3 separate regions of the Homo sapiens genome follow, and regions 2 and 3 are each linked to region 1. The links are contacts of gene promoters, found by promoter capture Hi-C in human tissues and cell types (Jung and others, 2019). All regions are on one chromosome and are shown on one strand. The core of a region is centred on a gene start or on the middle of the fragment in contact, and the rest is flanking DNA. Distances in the headings are between cores, read along the strand shown.

Region 1 (3,745 bases), core at 452-2,951:
TATAAAAGTAAAAACTTCAGAGTTTGTGAGGGGGGAGAGGAAAGGACAGCTGAAGGTGGATTACAAAGGCTGACACTGTCATCTTACGAAGTGGGGAGTCAAAAGAGACTGCAGTTGATGAAGGAAGAAATAAAGGTGTAGTAACATTACATGTAAAAGATACCTGTAGACCTAATCCCCTGATTCCAGATGTGGATCAATACACAATAGATACATTAATATAACTGTATCTAGAAGATGAAGAAAAATGATGCCAAAAATAGACAAATCAATAAAATAGATGAGTTAAAAGTGGTTATATATGGAGATCGGGATTGAGGATGAGGGGAAGTGGGATAGAAGATAGCTTCTTGCTATAAGCTTTTTGTAATATTTAATTCTCGGTAACCAATGGTTAGTACTACTTTAATGGAAATAAATTCAAATAGAGGGAGAGAATAGGTTCATGACTCAGTCAAGTCCCAAATTCTTTTGCAAAGAAACTCCTCTTTCCTATTAAAAAATTCCAAGTCCTTGTTGTCTTGTAACTACAAGTATACCTTCTGCAATTACTAATGAAGGGGGACTTTGTAAAAGTTACCCTATTTCTTATAAAGATACAACTACAGATTACAAACTCAATTTCTTAAACGTAAAAGGAAATGAGGTAGGGTGAAAGTAAGAAAATACAGATTTATTTTTTGGAACTGTAAATTCAAAATTAATGAGCTATAACGCCTTAGCTGCTTCTAGGTTCTTCCTGTGCTGATGACAATTCAGCAGTGAACAAAAAGAAAATTACAAAGTTAATATCCCTTGCCTTCTCTCAACCTCAAGATTTTTGGCAGCTAGAGTTTCACATTGTTAGGCAGAAAGGTTTAACACAAGCATATGGGATTCATTCATGTCAACTATTCCTCTTTAAAAAAGAATATTTTTTATTTAAAATATTAAACTTCCTTTAAAGACTATTTCAGGAGAAATAAATGTCCCCTCCTTCCTATTCCCTGCCAACACTCCATTTCAAAGTTTCAGCCTGCCCTAGGAAATTGAAAAGGAACTCCCTTGCTGCATCCTAAATGTCTCTTCATTCTAAATGCAAAAGCTTCAGGACAGTCCCCAGGGTGAACAGCATCTCCTGGATCCTCAAAACTACTTCCAGATGTAAGCCCCCAAGATAGACGACCAGATCCAGGTTTCCAACCCCTTTCCAGATGACAGCCTCTAAAAAGATGAGTGTGGCAGAGACCTAGTCCCCTGACTCCAGATGTGGGCCAAAGAGCACATGAATAAATTGAAACATCTCTCCCTACCACATGGAATTCCCTAAGGGAGAAAGCCTTCTGATGCCTCTCCAGCAACACTCCACATTAAGTCTCCAGATACCTAAGTCTCCATAGATCGAAGTGTTATTGTTCTGTCTCTTACCCCTTTTTTCTCTCTTCCTGTTTTCCATCTTCAATACCAAACCACAACAGCAAAACACTGTTCCTCACCTGGGTCAAGTTGCATAACTCTGGACACACTTTGGGGATTAGGTTATTCTGAAGGACTAGAGTCTTCAGGCCAGGCAGTTTTCCTAATGCTGAGGGCATCTTTGTCATCTTCTTCCCATTCAAAGTAATGATCTTCGTATTTTTACCACCACTCAATGCTTTTATTAACAATCTCTCAGTCATGATCTTGGAAAAGAAGTAGAAAACAAGGTAACCATTAGAGTTCTTTATTATACAGCTTTAGAACCTCTAATTACAGAATTGGTGTGTCATAGAAACAAGAACATTCTGAGATCCACCATGTTGAAGGGGGGAAGCATTAGATTATTTTCCTATGTGAAAGATACGAAAGGAAAGTAGATGGTCCAGGTTTGGGGCAGGAAATGTATAATGTAAGCCTAAAATAGCTTATGCCTGCGATATTAAAGCTATCAGAGATTAATGAGGACACAGAAGTGAACTTCTAGGAGCTCCCACTAGTCTAAGATGGAAAATATTAAGGATCAGAAAGAAATAATCTAGAATAGACTGAAACATATCAAAACACATTAAAATCTGAGTTCATAATGGCATTTTTTAAAAAGAAACATTACTCACCCTGGGAATTACTAGCGCACCAACTCAGTCTGAAAATTGATAAAGGAAAAAATATAAGCATTTATTCTGCTTTTCCAGTACAAACTGCACTTAAATATAACTTAATAGTTAATAAAGTTCTTATTCACAAGAATTGAAACTAATAAATGAGAAAGACAAAATAACTAGAATAATCACAATTTTTGCAAATTCTAATAAAATAATGGAGCTATGCAAAAATCATAATTGGAGACTGAAAGTATTAGATGAAAGGTTGATGAGGAACTTTATAATCAAGTGATCAGGTTAATAACCCACTAATCATTTTAGCATCAATAAAATTGAGACAATCACATTATAAGCCTTATGAAGTAATGAATTAAAAAGTACACAGCAGCACCACCTATGAAATGTTCCTGTCCAAAAATTAAATCTGAATCTAATCATGGCTTCAAGATCTAACTACCATTTACAAAAAAACAGAACTAGAGAATAAGTTAAGTTCATTATAGGGAAACAGTCAAATCTATAACATGGAAGATTCTACAGGACTGGTCCCTGGTCCAATGTCACAAGGTTTCACCAACAAATGAAAGACATTAATAAAAAGGAGGGAAAACTGTTACGATGTAAGTGAAACTTAGGGCAAATAACAGCTAAATGCAATGTCTGGACTGTATTTGAATCCTCAGTTGAATACAAACATCTCAGGGAAATTTGTTCATCGGCTATTAGATGAGAGAAATTAATTCTGTTACATGTGAAAATGGTATGGTGGTAGTATTTATTTTAAATGTGCTTAACATTCAGAAATGCATACTGAAATTTTCAAGTGAAATAAAATGATATCTTGAGTTTTTTTAAAAATAATCTAGGGGGGAAAGTGGGTGGAAGAAACTGATCAAACAAGATTGACAAAATGTTGATAATTATTAATGCTGAGTAATAGACACATAGGGGTTTGTATTTGTCCATTCTCGCACTGCTATAAATACCTGAGACTAGGTAATTTATAAAGAAAAGAGGGTTAATTGGCTCACAGTTCTGCAGGCTATACAGGAAGCATGGTGCTGGCATCTGCTCAGCTTCTGGGGAGCCCTAAGGAAGCCTACAATAATGGTGGAAGGCAAAGGGAGAGCCAGCACTTCACATGGCCAGAGCTGGAGGAAGATAGGAAGGAGGTGCTACACACATAAACAACTAGATCTCAGGATAACTCACTCACTCACTAGCAGGAAAACAGCACTGAGAGGATGCTAATGCATTCATGAGAACTCCACCCCCAGGATCTAATCACCTCCCACCAGGCCCAGTCTCCAACACTGGGGATTATAATTGAACATGAGATTTTGGAGGGAACACAAATCCAAACCATATCAGCATTCATTATATTAGTCTTGTTATTTTTGCATATGTTTAAAAATTTCCAAATAAAAGATTTAAACGGTGACAAAAAGGAGAGGGAGGGGAGTTGTGGCCAGTAACATTTGATTATTATCACAAGCCCACTAGCACCCAGATAGGATGAGTCTTAGAGGCATTAGGATTACACATGTATGTGACACACTTAGATGTGGGTTTCCAAAAACTTGAACATTATAAAATACATTCTGCACTGAAAGTGATCTGAACAGAAATCAATCCTTCCTTTGGCATTCAGAAATCACTTTATTTATTTATTCAACAAATATTTA
Region 2 (3,745 bases), core at 596-3,095, 1.3 Mb after region 1:
TTTTTCTTCTTCCTCTTCTCAATTTCTAAGTGCTGGAATGCCTCAGAGCTTTACTATGGGTCCTCTCTTTGCTATGTATATTCCCTTCTTAGATGAACCAGTCCAGACTATCAATATGTTAGTGATGTTCAATTTTATATTAGGATCCTGGACTCTTCCTGGAACAACAGATTCATGTATTGTTGTAGTAGTAGCAGCAGTAATTATGACCGTTTCTACTTGCTGGCTATTATAAACAATGCTGCTATCACTAATCACATACAACTGTGTGAACATATGTTTTCATTTCTCTTGGTTTACCTGTTAGTGGATTGCTTGGTTGTATGGTAAATTTATCTTTCATTTTTAAGAAACTGCCAAACCGTTTTCCAAAGTGGCAGCATCATTTTATATTCCCACCAACAATGTATACGGATTTTGGTTCTGCCACATCACTGTCAACACTTGTTATTTTCTGTCTTTAATTATAGCTATTTTGTGGGTATGAAGTGGTAACTCATTGCAGTTTTAATTTGCATTTCCAAATGACTAATAATATTAAGCATCATTTTATGTGCTTTTTAGCTATTTGTATATCTCCCTTGGTGAAATTCAAATCTTTTACTCATTTAAAAATAGGGCTATATGTCCTATTATTGACTTGTCAGGGTTTTTTATATATTCTAGAATCAAGCCCTTTAGCAGATACATGTTATGCAAATATTTTCTCCCAGTCTGTGGCTCTGCTTTTTTTTTTCCTTCTTGGAAATGAGGTCTTGCTATGTTGCCCAGGTTGGAGTGCAGTAGCTATTCATAGGCACGATCACAGTGCACTATTACACATCCTCAAACTCCTGGGCTCAAGTGATCCTCCTGCCTCAGCCTCCTAAGTACCTGGGACTAAAGTCGTGGACACTAAATGCCTGGCTTTCTCTTTTCTCAATAGTACCTTTCGAAGTGGAAAAGTTTCCAATGTTTGCAAAGTCTGATTATAAATTTTTTAATGAATCCTATTTATTTTTGATGTCATATTTAAAGATTCTGCCTAACCCTAGGTCATGAAGATTTTCTCCTACATTTACATTTGGATGTCTGATCCATTCTACCTCTGAAATACTATCTTAATTCTGTAACTCTTCTGTCTTCAGAATTTCCACCTTAATTAGAATATTCCTGAAAGTGTCTTTTCTAGCCTCTTTGCTTCCACTTTTGTCTTTCTCCAATCAACTTTCCACACAGCAGTAAGAATTTCACCTAAACTTCTATCAGATCATGTCACTTCCCTGCAAAAGATACTTTAATGGCTTTCCATTGCACTTGGAATAAAAATCTAACCTTTTTATGATGGCCAATAGCCTCTCTCTTAACTCTCCAATATCATCTAATTCCTTTCCTTGCTCACTGTATTCCAGCCACACAGGCCTTCTCACTGTTTCTTGAGAATATAAAACTTTTTCCTCTTCTAGGCTCAGAGCCTTTATGCTTGCTGTTTTGTTTGGCTGAATACTCTTTCTTCAGCATTTGAATGACTGGCTCTTTTTCAAGCTTCAAATGTCAGCTCAAATGTTTGCCCCTAAAAAAAGGCCTTTGTTTCCCTCCCTTAATTAGTCTATTACCTTGCTTATTTCCTTATAAGACTGTCACAATTTGTGTATCTTGCTTATTTATTTGTTTTCACTCTGCCTTCTCAACTAGAATGTGAACTAGCTACAGAAAGTTTGTCTTGTTTACTACTCTGTTCCCAGGGCTCACTCCAGTATATACATAGCACATGGTAGGGGTTTAAGACATATTTGTTAAATATATGAAAGAAATTGTTACTCCTATCACACGATTTCTCTTTTTTGTTAGGAATTCTCAATTCTGCTCTAGAAGGAGTTACTCATATATAAATGCTATGATAAGACAGAAAATAATTTAAACAACTTCTAGCTAGTCATCTAATTTGCACAATTTTTCAAGGAATATTTTATTCACAGTATATTAACTAATTCTGTAATTCAAAGAGTCTAGGTTAAAACTATATACTCACTTAAGAAAGATGGTCTTTCATCTGGATTTTGTGCCCATCCACTTTCTATTAGAGAGATCATACGTGCTCGGTGAGGTATATCATATGGCAAACTTTCTTCATTAATAACAGGTCGATGTCCTTGTGACACACTATACATTATCTGCAAAGGATTGGTGACATCTGTCAAAACAAATAGATTGCATTCATTAGTAATATATTATGATTAAGCATATTACTTACATCTAAAACTAACTAAAAGAAAATAAGTGAATATTGAAATTTTAGGAATGATGCCTTACCCCCCTTTCTGTAAAAGGAATATATATACCCCAAACCATTGCCAGACTTGTCTGATTCCTATGGAATGAGTTTATATCCTCACCTCATTAATTTTGGGCTTGACCATGTGATTGGATTTGGTCAACAGAGTATTTGTAAAGCAGAGCTGAGCGAAACCTTGCAGAACTAAGAAGGGCTACAGCAACCAATATTTAATGTGAATGAGAAATAAATGTTTATTTCATAAGCTACGGAGATTCCGAGGTTGTTTTTTGTTACACAACAAGCTGACCTACACAAACCTCAAAATAAAGAAATAAACAATATTTTCAGGGAATAAAAAGGACAGATTAGTCTTCGATATTTGCTAGTCTTTATAGAGGGGGTAGTAATTAAATTATCATATAAATAATTTTACAGCTAGACTAGAACTTGGAAATAGTAATTTAAAATTCTTATTATGCAGGCGACAAAAATGAGGACGCAAGAGATTTGTGACTTGATCACAGAGCTAATTACTGTCAGAACAAGAATTAAAATCTGGGTTTTTCTGATCCTTAATCCAGTACATTTTCCAGTATATAGTAGACTCACAACTGGATCCTTAACCCGGTATATTTTGCAGTATGTGATGCATTCACAACTGATAAATGGTTGTTTTAGTGTGTTTTCCACAAAATGAATAAGCAGATTTAAAATAACATGATTTTTAGATAGTTCTGAGAGTGACCTACTAACATGATGTTATTGAGCATAAAAAAGTCAAACCATACTTACCTTCAAAAGGCTGTTTTCTGGATAACACTTCCCATGTGATAACTGCATAGCTGTTTAACATAAGAACATACATGTTACATATTTTAAATGAACTCTGCATAATAAACTAAAATAGCACTATTTTTAAAAGCTGACTGAAGATACCATTTTTCAAAGTGATAAGGCAGCAAAGAATTACTGTATACAATGAAGATGATAAATGCTCATGTAGTTTGGAAACAAAATCAACTTTAAGTTAAAAAATTAGGAAATTACTGTAATACAAGCTTAACGTTACATGCAAGATTAACTTTTTGTGGATGATTTAATTCTTGGACACCCAGATAAGCTATGCCCTTTAATTAAATGATATTATTTTTCACAAAGAACAAAGAACAAGAAAAAAATTGTCTCATGGAGCTCTATTCTACTGCCTTTTTTCTGCTCTCAGCACTATCTTCTTTGGTAGTAGAAATATCTTGCCTACAGTTTAACTTCAGATGTCAATTACAGGGTTAAGCTGCATAGAGTTTATAATTAGAATAAATGGTTAAATAGGATATAAGAATTTTGCCACACCCCAACATTAACCATGCATTCAAAATGGACACATAGAATTTATTACTACTAACACCTTGTGTTACAGGGAGAGCGAGGAGTACAGAGGGAATTCCTACCCAAATGAAGGAATAATATTTCCTCATTTTTCCCTGACAG
Region 3 (3,745 bases), core at 468-2,967, 1.1 Mb after region 1:
AACTAACATTTATTGAGTACTAGTCTGCCCCGGGAACTATTCTTAACACTTTATAGACACTAGCTCTTATAATCATTACAGCAATCCTAGGAGGAAGGCTTTATTATCAACATTATTTTACAGAAAAGACAGGCACAGCAAGCTAATCTGTCCAAGTTGATAGGACTAATAAGTATTAACCAGGATTGGAACTTGGCAGTTAAGCTCTAGAGCCTGCACTCTTAACTACTATGTAACTACTACTGCCTTGCCAAGAAATTTCTAATTACTACTTAGAAAGAAAAACTAATTTATTTTCAAAATTCTCAAATCGCTTTACCTTTACCTTATCTTCAAAAAACATCAAAATAAGGTACACAGTTGCTCTAAGAAATTTTAACAGATGAGGTTGAACTCTCCCATCAAACGAGATGACTCTAGAAAAAAGTGATTTCAAAAGGATACTAATACCACCTTAATAAATTTCAACTGATAACTAAAAATGTGTTTTCAAATATTCTTTAGATGCACCCACTGTTCTAGAAAAAAACAAAATCTCTGGACACAATATAAAGAAATGTACTTATGTGGTTCTTATATACTCTAAGCAACATACACCTTGCACTCACACTACTGACGAATAAGGAAAGCCTTCTGCTATGCTCTACTCTTCCCACTTCTGAAACAAGGTGCATTTGCTTCCATTCCAACTGATCATGTCAATGACTGGTCATCTTTTCCCTCCAATAGTAAAGTTGAAGGACATAATTGAAAGAAGTGTTAAGTATGTACTCAACTCACCTTCCTTTTGCAGGTCTCCAAAATGTTTCACTGCATAAACAAAGCACCACATTTGTGTTCAGTGTTGAGTTAGGAAATGGTGGGGAAGGAATGGAAAGGCTTTGCAGGTAGGGCAGAAGTAATGCACCCTGATAAAAGAATTTGTAATGGACGGAGAGTTGATGGAAAAGGAGACTTACAACATGAAACAATAACTAGATGTAGCATGTTTTTAAGTGCTAAAGCAGGGGACCCCCACACCCCAGCCCCATACCAGTCTATGGCCAGTTAGAAACCAGGCCACACAGCAAGAAGTGAGCAGTAGGTGAGCCAGCATTACTGCCTGAGCTCCACCTAATGTCAGATCAGCGGTGACATTAGGTTATCATAGGAGCGCAAACCCTATTGCAAACTACACATGCAAGGAATCTAGCTTGCACATTCCTTATGATACTCTAATGCCTGATGATCTGAGGTGAAACAGTTTCATCCCAAAACCACCCCCTGCACCTTCCCCTGGTCTGTGAAAAAATTTTCTTTCACGAAAATGGTCCCTGGTGCCAAAAGGGCTGGGGACCACTGTGCTAAAGTATGCATGCTAGCCCCTGAACTGGTAATCCTTCAGTGAGGAGTGGACTAGAGCTGGGAATGGAGACTCTATGGCTCAGGTAAAGAATGATTCTAATCAGGGCATGTGTACTGGATCAGTCAAACGGGCTAGTATAGAGACTGGACAGGCTGAGGGTGCTCCATTATGGAGGACAAGGAAGAGTAACTGGCCAAGTACAATGTCTATGGGTTGGAAAAAGGAATGTTTTGAAATTTATTCTTGTGTTTACGGTTCACACATCAGGGACTCCAGAAGAACAGCAAGATGGTTAAAAAATCTTGTGTTTTCTGATAATTTAATTAAACTGTAAAAACAGTATAATGTACTTTACTTAGTTCAATGCTTCCAAGGCCTCTGGCCTTGAAAACTGTTTCTTCTTCTCTATTAACTAAAACAGTCCTTTGTTTTTATTCTTTCTTCAGTTGGTGATTTACATTTATTCTCTTCCTCTATCACAAGGCTGCTGGTAAGATTATTCACTTCACTCTTTCCCTTTCCCCAACACAAGCTCCATATGGTTCAAGCTTCCTTGGGTTGCTTCTACTTCTTAGTTTTAAATTCTCTGAGGTTCTTAAAAGTTATTTCCACCAAAGTCTTTATGTTAGCTAGGCTATCGGATGTCCATTCACATGTAAGAAAAAGCACATGTACATCTGTAAAACAATTTATATTTTTCATGAGGCTTCTACACCTAACGCCTTGTTCTGTTACTAAATATTGGAGTAGTAATTTATTATCAAGTATATTTTATAGATGAAAAAGCTGAATAACAGTAAAATATCGTCACTCACTAACTGTCCAAGTATCAGGTGTAAACTAAGTGACTATGACTACAATAAAAAGTCACAGTTCCTTCTTTTTCTCTACTAGACCACTTACAACAACTAATTTTTTAAATTATGTCAATTGTCGATTTTAATAGTAATAGTTAACACTTAGGTAATTAATAAGCCATAGTTTCTCATCTGTAAATGTGAGCGTTAAAAATTCACTTCCTACATTAAAAAAAGATTGTACGTCAGTTTCCACCCATGTCTATAAATGGGAATAAAAGAGCACTTACTTGCAAGGTCATTGCAAGTGTTAAATGAGTTAATAAGTATTTAGCACTTAGAACAAAGCCTGATACAAAATAAGCACTCAATAAACATTAGATATGAAAGAAAGAAAGAAAAAAAGAAGGAAGGAAAGATTTTTATAAGGGAAAAAAAGAAAGGAAGGGAGGAAGGAAGGGAAGGAGGGAGGAAGGAAAGAAGGAAGTAAAAATAAGTGAAAATTTGGTTAAAATTAGGTAATGTCTTTAAAAAGAATATTTCACATTTTGCTTGTTCTGTATTCCAACACCTGTTACATCATATACCTTTATTTAATATACAACTTGTGGGAATCACTATAGAATTCTCATATGTTCTTAGGTATAAGGAATTCTAGCTTTCTGGTATAAAGTAATCCATGTGACTCAACACCAAAGCTAGTCCAAAATCAAGTACAATATCTGAGTAGGCTGTCATATATTTTTTCAATAAATACATGCAAGAAAAGCAAAAAAAATTTTTTAAGAAAAATAGTTTTATCTAGATACAATCAAAATGTAATTTTAAGACAATAATAGACATGAGGCCAACATTTTAACTTGAATGTTAAGTAACTTAAGATGCTAAAAAAAAATCCAAATATGAAGAGTATCACACTATGTTGAACACTTATATAATATGCCTCTGATGGCGGCACAAGAGGCTTTTGTTGGATTCAGGTTAAAGTAACAATTTCGCAAAGCAAGGCTGTAGCCAACCTATCACCTGTTGGACAAAGCTGCCAGAGCAGGTGCAAAGGACGAGGTAACATCTGCATATAAACTCCCCTCAAATCCTAATCACTAAACTAAGCAAGCACAGAAGCTAAGAAGCTCAATGAAAAGTAACACTTGGAAAATGACAAAGTAAGCATTAAGAAAATTTCAGCAAAACAAATCTAGCAATATATAACTAGGATAATTTACCAAAATGAAGGAAGATTCAGCCTAGGAATGCAATGGTGTTCAATATTCAAAAATTAATTAATGTAATTCACCATATTAACAGGCTTAAAAATATACCCATCTCAATAAATGTAGAAAGAAGGCTTATATTAACAAATTCAATACTTATTCACGATTTTTTTTTAAAAAAAAAACTATAATCACAGGATCAAACTCACACATAACAATATAAATCTTAAATGTAAATGGGCTAAATGCTCCAATTAAAAGACACAGACTGGCAAATTGGATAAAGAGTCAAGACCCATCAGTGTGCTGTATTCAGGAGACCCATCTCACCTGCAGAGACACACATAGGCTCAAAATAAAGGGATGGAGGAAGATCTACCAAGCAAATG

The links. The method cuts DNA at HindIII sites, captures the fragments that hold promoters and counts their contacts. A contact is called where the count stands out against the background at its distance.
Region 2: a fragment that was not itself captured here is called in contact with the fragment with the promoter of LRRC69 in region 1 in 1 of the 25 tissues and cell types used here (lymphoblastoid cells).
Region 3: a contact is called between a fragment that was not itself captured here and the fragment with the promoter of LRRC69 in region 1, in 1 of the 25 tissues and cell types used here (spleen).

The regions. Positions count from the first base shown.
Region 1 is chr8:91,100,575-91,104,319 of GRCh38, reverse strand. LRRC69 (leucine rich repeat containing 69) reads right to left here and starts at 1,701. Exons shown (of 8, transcript NM_001129890.2): 1 at 1,476-1,701. The coding sequence starts at 1,658. The HindIII fragment of the contact is 5,612 bases long and covers 723-3,745 here.
Region 2 is chr8:89,771,095-89,774,839 of GRCh38, reverse strand. It overlaps RIPK2 (receptor interacting serine/threonine kinase 2), which reads right to left. Exons shown (of 11, transcript NM_003821.6): 5 at 3,050-3,099; 6 at 2,012-2,173. Among named protein-coding and RNA genes, the nearest start is that of RIPK2, 15 kb to the right of the region's middle. The HindIII fragment of the contact is 5,414 bases long and covers 1-3,745 here.
Region 3 is chr8:90,027,561-90,031,305 of GRCh38, reverse strand. All of the region lies in intron 5 of DECR1 (2,4-dienoyl-CoA reductase 1), which reads right to left. Among named protein-coding and RNA genes, the nearest start is that of DECR1, 28 kb to the right of the region's middle. The HindIII fragment of the contact is 3,670 bases long and covers 1-3,552 here.